3 separate regions of the Homo sapiens genome follow, and all the other regions are linked to region 1. The links are contacts of gene promoters, found by promoter capture Hi-C in blood cells and fetal thymus (Javierre and others, 2016). All regions are on one chromosome and are shown on one strand. Each heading gives the region's core, a stretch centred on a gene start or on the middle of the fragment in contact. The rest is flanking DNA. Distances are from core to core; before and after follow the strand shown.

Region 1 (2,570 bases), core at 32-2,531:
AAGGTTGGAGGTGCAGAGAGGGAAGGTCACAAAAATTAATCATGGATCCTGCCCTTGAGGATGTCACAGTCTGGTTGGGTTTAACCTGGTTAAAGCAGCAACGCTAGGAGGTTCCTGTTGAAAAGAGAATGAAGCATATGGGCTGGGTGCGCACAAGCATGAGTTCCGAGCCGGTGGAAAAAAAGGTTCTAGAAGGCCTCTTTCAGGAAAACCCTCAGACTTTCCTTTGCTCTCACAACACAACAATCAACACAGAAGACTTATGTGGCCAAAGGTTTGGGTTTTTCCCCTCCACACTAAGCAGCAGACACCAGCTGGGTGTCCTCCAATTCAATCCCAACAGTATCTACCTGGAGATAGTGTCAGATCCCATAGGTTGAGGGCTCAGTCCCCAAGACCGCCCCCACCTTCAGACAGCAATGGCAAGTCTGGGCCTCTGAAACTTCCGACCAACCCGCTTCAAGTTGGGGTTCCCACGACCCCCCTCTTTGGATTATGTTAACTCACTGGAGCAGTTCACAGAACTCAGGGAAACACATTCACCGGTTTCATATAAAGGATATGACCAAGGATACAGATGAGATGAGCAGGGTGGGGAATGGGGAAGAAGCTCCGAGGTTCCTTGCCTACCCTGGGCCACCACCCTCCAGGAACCTCTACGTATTCAGCTGTCAGAGGCTCTGCAAACCCTCTCCTCTTGGGTTTTTATGGAAGCTTCTGGACATCAGCATCCCTTCCCCCAGGGTATATGGTGGGACCTTCTCTGGGAAGGGACTTAAGACCCATAATCAGAAATGTGGAAGGAGATTAGAGTCCTGCTTTGGGGCAGGTAAAAGGAGGGCAGGAGAAGGGGAGAGTCTGTTTCCTGAGGCCTAACACACCCAACATTATCACAGAACATTGTAACAAGGGCTATAGGAGTTACGACCCAGGAACTGTGGATGAAAACCAATACATATATATATCATAACACCACAGCCTCCTAGAGGAAAGTGACCGTGGAAGGGTCTGGTGAGAGCTGGCGGGAGACAAGAGTGCATTCCACGCAGCCCAAAAGCCTTGCGTGCTTTGAGAACAGCAGGTGGAAAGTGGGTAAGCGGCCACTAGAGGGAATTAAACAGCTTCGGACAGCGGACTCGGCAGCGCAGCAAGAAAGCTCCGGAATCCGGATTCGAGGCTTCCCGGGCTGCACCGGAGTCTCCAGCAGAGGGCGCGATTCCGCCCGCTGGCCTTAGGTCGTCAGAGCGCCGGCGCGGGAAGCGCTTCCGGGCAGGGGCGGGGCTTCCGGCGGCGCCTCAGGTCGCGGGGCGCCTAGGCCTGGGTTGTCCTTTGCATCTGCACGTGTTCGCAGTCGTTTCCGCGATGCTGCCTCTGCTGCGCTGCGTGCCCCGTGTGCTGGGCTCCTCCGTCGCCGGCCTCCGCGCTGCCGCGCCCGCCTCGCCTTTCCGGCAGCTCCTGCAGCCGGCACCCCGGCTGTGCACCCGGCCCTTCGGGCTGCTCAGCGTGCGCGCAGGTTCCGAGCGGCGGCCGGGCCTCCTGCGGCCTCGCGGACCCTGCGCCTGTGGCTGTGGCTGCGGCTCGCTGCACACCGACGGTGAGGTTTAGCGGGCCGGGGGTGTGGTTTGCGTTCAACAGAGGGAAAACGTAGACCAGGAATAGGGCCTGCAACCGACCTCTGAGGTCTGGGACATTTTTCCATTGATTGGCAACCAGCGGGCTAAACCCACGTATGATCATATTTCCCCCACCTCCCCTATCCAGCAGTTTCGTTTTCTTTTGGTAGGGGGTGAATAAAATTAAATACTAGGGTACCTTTTTCCTTAGTCTTATTCTATCGAAAGTGGACCTTTGGGAAGGCCCATGGTCGTGGTTGAAAATAGCATAGTTATATCGTTTGGCAAGTGGAAGAGGATTGGAAATTCTCCTGGTTTATAGCGGAAAGTGGTAATGCGTTCATTGTTGGAAATCACTTTTCCAGAATCAGGCTCAGCTTCCTACTACTATTATGGTATTTTTACCGATAAGGAAACAGGCTTCTAGAGTAACCGTAATAGCAGAGAGATTAGAAACAGTCCAGGTTTCTGGCTGCAATAACCTGGGTAATAGTTTTATGTTTTAGACTAACTGGCTTTCCTTTTTATGTATCTGGATTTCTTTTCTAGGAGACAAAGCTTTTGTTGATTTCCTGAGTGATGAAATTAAGGAGGAAAGAAAAATTCAGAAGCATAAAACCCTCCCTAAGATGTCTGGAGGTTGGGAGCTGGAACTGAATGGGACAGAAGCGAAATTAGTGCGGAAAGTTGCCGGGGAAAAGTAAGTACTGGTCTGGGGATCCCAGGGCAGCAACTCCCTTAACCTTGCAGGACCCATCCTGGGTCATCCCCAGAAGAGCCTTGAGTTCAGGTGTGGATACTTTGATAAATGGGTTTCAAGAGAGTGAAGGATTCATTTGGACAACTTCGTAAGCCCCAGGCAGTCCATTCACCGAACACAAATTTGCTGTGGGCTGGTTACTAAGGAGACAAAAATGTAGTGCAAAAAAGTACTGGCAGAATCAGTTTGATCTCTGA
Region 2 (2,570 bases), core at 1-2,500, 1.2 Mb before region 1:
GAATGCTCTACGTCCTCCAGCAGCAGGTGTGAAAAGTTCAGGGAGAAGTAGGGCAGTCAGCCTTGTGTACTGCTTCCTTAGAGAGTTTCTGTTTTCCTTTTGTCTCAGAAAGATTAGCACTAGAGTATCCCATATGAGTTCTGACAGATTTGTGAGGCTCAATTACCTGAACACATGGGCAAATAATTCTCTTTCTTTTTGTAATCTGCGTGTGTGTGTGTGTGTGTGTGTGTGTGTGTGTGTGGCGCCAAACTCCTTAAACTGGTTCTTGACTTTATGAGGTCATAGACCTTTGAGAATCTATTAAAAGCCACTCCTCCCCACCCCCAAGATGCTTATACATTATATAGCACATATTTTTGCATGGGAAGTCAGGTGGATCAGTTACCCTGAACCCTTGGTCCTAGCTATGGACCCCAGTCTTAGAGGAAAGGGACCTTGTTAGTTTCCCATCTATTTCATGTTTATAATGTATAGAAGCTTGTAATAGTAAATAATTTGGTAAACAGCAAAGAGTAAAGACCATGTTAAGTGTCTTTGAGGACATCTTTAGTAGCGGATACACAGGCATTTACGTTCTTTACATTGTGATGGATTTTTAAAAAGTGTTTGTTGTGACTTTCATGCCTTATACATTAGTAAGCCTTTTACTCATTTCTGGTCACTGAAGTCACATGTTAGCCTTTATTGCTTGAACCAAAAGCTGTACTTTTTCATTTAAAAGAAAATGCCTGAGTTAGGTTTTGCAGTGTATTCTTTTGGGTTCTATTTCAGTTCTTATTCTACACTGCTGCCGTAGAGATTGCTCTAAAACATGAATCTTACCATGTCAGACCTCTGCTTAAAAGACTTTAGTGGCTCTCTGTAACTTAGAGGATGAAAGCTAAACTCTTCAGCGTGGCATGTAAGACTTCACGATCCGGCCCGCCTACATTTCCAGAGTCACCTCCACCTTCACTCCTTCATGCTAAATTCCTATTACACTGGGGACGAAGGGATGGAAGGTGAACACTGCCTATTCACTATCTTGAACTGGAAACCAGTAACTGTTTTTTGGGTGCATGAATGAAGAGCCTTTTTTTCATTTTCAAGTGACTTGAATTAATAATGGTTATATTTGGACAAGAGGAGATATATCGATGCATCCTTTTCTACAAAAAAGATCAATGGAAAGGTATGAAGTTTTCTTTTTTCCCCTTTACAAAACAGGTAAAAGAAATCCAGGAAGAATTGGATAAATTGAGTCCACATAAAATTAAACACACTAAGAAGGTATGCTGCAATTAAATTATGATCAATACTTGCTTATAAATGACATTTCCCAGTGTTTTGTTAGTATTGTGTAGGGCCCTCTGCACTAATGTTATTTTCAGTACTTGCAGAAACCTGTTAGTGAGGGAGTGAGCACCTTACATATTCTGAATATGGTTGCCTTCTAAGGAACAGGTTCTAAAAAATAGATTTTTGTTGTTGTTGCTGCTGGTATAAAAAATTGGAAGTAGTAAGGAAAAGACTGCCACTAGAAAACTTTAAACTTTACAACTCCCTTTACTATGAAAAAGTTTTCACAATAGAAAGCACTTTATACAGAAAGAAGACAGGCTATAAATATTCTTAGAAGTTGGGTGAATGTTAGCAAGTTCTGAGTATGGAAATAACTTCTCTCATCTTGTTTATTACCAGTCATGGGCAATGTCTAAGCTGGCGGCTGCCCATCGAGGAGCCATTCGGGCCTTACAGATGTTTGTCACTCAGTTTACTGACCGAGGGGAGCATCCACTTCCTGCTCGGTGTAAGGAACTGGGCAGCCTTATTCGCCAGCTTTCACTTTGTTCTGTCAAGCTGGATGCAGACCCTTCTGTTCCTGATGTGGTTATAGATATTCTGCAACAAATTGAGGTATGGAATTAATTCCAATTTTTGTTAGAGGTGCATTGGAAGTAATGCTTACTATTACCTAGTTTCGTTAGGATTTATGGAGAATACAAGACAAAGCCATTACCTAGTGAATTAAAGCTTTGCAGAGGGCAGAAGAAACACTTCTTTTTGTTTTGCTATTTTTACAGTGTAGTCTGTATTATCGTATTTCACTGCTTCGAAAATTGGTAACTTGAATATAAAACATGTAACAACTTTAAACCAGGTTCATTAACTAAACAGAATGTCCCATTCCCTGGCCCATGCCATTTGAGAAAAAAATTTATTAGCATAGAAAAGGAAACCAGTAAAGCATTCTTAGATTAGAATATCAGTGTTTAATTTAGATGGATTTTGGAAAAGAAGAAACACTTAAAGGTACAGTATATGGAATCAGAGCCTCAAATCTTGTGATATAGCTAGAGACGTCTAGAAATCACAGCTGGCATGTATTAGACAGGAATTGATAGTGTTCTTAGTTTTCATTGGTGACAAAGACACATTAATTTTATAGCTCTCTGAAGTTTGCATGGTGTTTCCATGTAATTATGCCATTTGACCCTTTCTATGGCAGTATGCTTTGCAATGGGTTTTACTGCTGTTGTACAGGTTAAATTTTTTTAGAAAAGCAAACATCGGAGAGATGACAGTTA
Region 3 (2,570 bases), core at 21-2,520, 1.0 Mb before region 1:
GAAGCCTTCACCGACTAAGCTTGCATTTGGTGAGCCTCACTATTGGTCACTTGCTTTGCAATTTCCTATCACGTACAGCTCTTATCACCTGGTATTGTGAGCATCTGTTTCCTCCAAGACATGCTTTCATTCACTCATTCAACTATTTGTTGAGCACCTATATGTGCCAGGAACTATCTGGGGTGGTGGGGAAACAGCAGTGAACTAACCAACGTCCCTGTTTTCATGAAGTCTATATTCTTGAGGCTCTTTGAGGGCAGGAACTGCCTGGCACCAAGGAAACACTCCATAAAAAAGATGATTAGTGTTGTCAGTATTACCTGGGACACGGCACCCAAAGCACTCTTAGCTGAGCGAGCTGCAGCCTGGAGGCCCTGCTGACCTGGCTCTGGGGTTTCCAGGCGTTTCCAGGAGGGCCCTGCGCGGAGGTTGAGGTTGACGGCTCTCAGGGGCAGCCTCCTTTGGAACTGTCTGCACAGGGACCCCAGGGCCCCTACAGAGGTCTCCTGATGGCTGACCACAGGCTGCAGCTCCTTGCTGTCCTCCAGCTGCTCCTGGTGCTGGAGAGATCTCCGGCGCACGGAGGTCCCCATGTTCTGCCACCGAGAAGCCATCTGCCTGGCCAAGAGTCTTCTCTGTCCACTAGACCCTGGGGAGGAGGGCGAAAGGCAGATCAGCAAGGCATTCCCCATACCCATTCCCAGGCCCCACAGAGACCCTGGACACAGGGGAAGAGACGGGATGCAGCGGGGTGGCGGGGGCGGGCGAGTTGGTAAGTGTGGGTGCAGGAAGGAGGATGCTTCCTGGAAGAGGGGCCTCGGGTCAGCAGCATTTCTGATGTCCCGCCCTTCAAGTTTCCAAAACAGCTGTCTTTTCATCCCAACCTCCTTCCTCTCTCTGGCTCAGGCGAGGAGGGGAGGCAGGGTCAAGACACGCCGTAGCCGAGCTTCAGCGCTGGGCCCAGGACACGATCACCATCTTCTTCACCAGCTCGCCCAGACCAAACGCGCACCCGCCCAGACCCCGGCCTTCCCACCAGACGCCCCGATTTCGATCCGACTTCTTGTGGTACCCAGACGACCCCACAGGCCGTGCGTGTCCGAACCTGATGCCCTCCCCTGTGAACAGAACCTGATGCCCTCCCCTCCGAACAAAAAAATTGTTTTGAGTCCAGATCGCGCCATTGCACTCCAGCCTGGGCAACAAGGGCGAAACTTGTGCCCAGCCCGCACTCACCCGACACCACTAAGGCCGAGCACAGCCGCAGCACAGCTGCTCCTCGCCCACCGCAGCCGATTTGAAACTCTGCGCGGCTCCGCCCCCGGCCCCGTCCTCACAGCTGATTGGTTCCGTCCCCGCCCCCGCCACCGCCACCGCCCCGGGGATCCGATTGGCTCCCTCTCTCGCGGCTGCAAATGCTGCGCTTGGATTGGCCCGGCCGTGCCCATTCATCGCTCCGGCCCCCGCCCCGCCGCCAGCCTCGTGGCTCCGGGCTTTGTATCCTGCGTCCCGCTCGCGCCACTGCCCTTGCTAGCCCAGCCCCCGCGCATCGCACACCGGGTCCCCTCCCTGGAGCGCGCACAGGGTTCAGGCTGCTCTGACCCATGGGGTGGAGGCGGAGGTCCTGGGACCTAGGCCTCCTGGCTCAGGCCCCAGGCCCCAGGCCCGGCAGCGGGCAGAGACCCCTCTCATCCTGCCAAGGGGTCTGGCTTTTCCTTCTTGCTCAGTGGTTTTGTCAGAAGGAGCCAGGGACTGGCAGTGCAGAGCCCTGGGTTCCCAGAGACGTTTTCTTTCAAATTTCCCTCCTGACCCTCCCTTCCTGTGACAAGACACTGTCCCTCTCTGAGTTCCCCATACTCGCCATCCACGCTCCGCCCTCCCTAGAAAACGCGTCCCGGAAGCGGGGATAGACCAGAGTACCGGTCTGCCCTCCACCCGTCTACACCGGCTCCCCGCCCCCGCCTTGCCCCACGCATCCCTCCCTCTCTCCAGCGGAATGCCTGCCTCTCTTCTCCTTAGCATCCAAACAAATGCAGCCATTATAAAGCTCTCTCCAGCTCATCTTTCTCCTTTCGGTGACCTCAGAGCAGTGCTGCCCACTCCCCCGGCTGGTTTCTTTGTTACTTCTCCGCACAAGAGCCTGAGATGATGGCTTCTTGAGACTCTGTCTTCAGCCCTCTCCGTTTCTGGGTGGTCTCACCCACTCCTTTGGCCTCAGTGATTTCCAAGGAAAGGATGATGATAATGATTAACGTGTATATGGCACTTAGTATGCACAGGTACCGGTGTTGCAGTTTATTAACTTACTTGATCCTCTGCTATGGTTTGAATGTGTCCCTCAAATTTCACATGTTGGAAATGTAATGCCCAAATTCATATATCGGTGGCATTTTTTGTTTGTTTTTGAGACGGAATTTCACTCTTGTTGCCCAGGCTGGAGTGCAATGGCATGATCTCGGCTCACTGCAACCTCCGCCTCCCAGGTTCAAGCGATTCTCCTGCCTCAGCCTCCCTAGTAGCTGGGATTACAGGTGCCTGCCACCACGCCTAGCTAATTTTTTGTATTTTTA

What was found. Contacts are between HindIII fragments. The CHiCAGO score rates a contact against its expected background, and 5 or more counts as called.
Region 2: a contact is called between a fragment that was not itself captured here and the fragment with the promoter of C1QBP in region 1, in 1 of 17 cell types (M0 macrophages). The highest score is 5.1, in M0 macrophages.
Region 3: a contact is called between the fragment with the promoter of PIMREG here and the fragment with the promoter of C1QBP in region 1, in 5 of 17 cell types (M2 macrophages, M0 macrophages, M1 macrophages and 2 more). The highest score is 9.3, in M2 macrophages.

The regions. Positions count from the first base shown.
Region 1 is chr17:5,437,866-5,440,435 of GRCh38, reverse strand. C1QBP (complement C1q binding protein) reads left to right here and starts at 1,281. Exons shown (of 6, transcript NM_001212.4): 1 at 1,281-1,594; 2 at 2,163-2,313. The coding sequence starts at 1,363. RefSeq lists an enhancer at 885-1,064 and silencers at 1,124-1,306, 1,285-1,454, 1,565-1,614. The HindIII fragment of the contact is 1,457 bases long and covers 717-2,173 here.
Region 2 is chr17:6,622,211-6,624,780 of GRCh38, reverse strand. KIAA0753 reads left to right here. Exons shown (of 19, transcript NM_014804.3): 4 at 1-26; 5 at 1,210-1,272; 6 at 1,684-1,899. Among named protein-coding and RNA genes, the nearest start is that of KIAA0753, 17 kb to the left of the region's middle. The HindIII fragment of the contact is 1,536 bases long and covers 483-2,018 here.
Region 3 is chr17:6,443,155-6,445,724 of GRCh38, reverse strand. It overlaps PIMREG (PICALM interacting mitotic regulator), which reads right to left and starts at 1,270. Exons shown (of 6, transcript NM_019013.3): 1 at 1,237-1,270; 2 at 321-649. The coding sequence starts at 614. All of the region lies in intron 2 of LOC107985017 (a long non-coding RNA gene), which reads left to right. RefSeq lists silencers at 1,021-1,248, 1,331-1,580, 1,811-1,960 and an enhancer at 1,312-1,890. The HindIII fragment of the contact is 3,587 bases long and covers 22-2,570 here.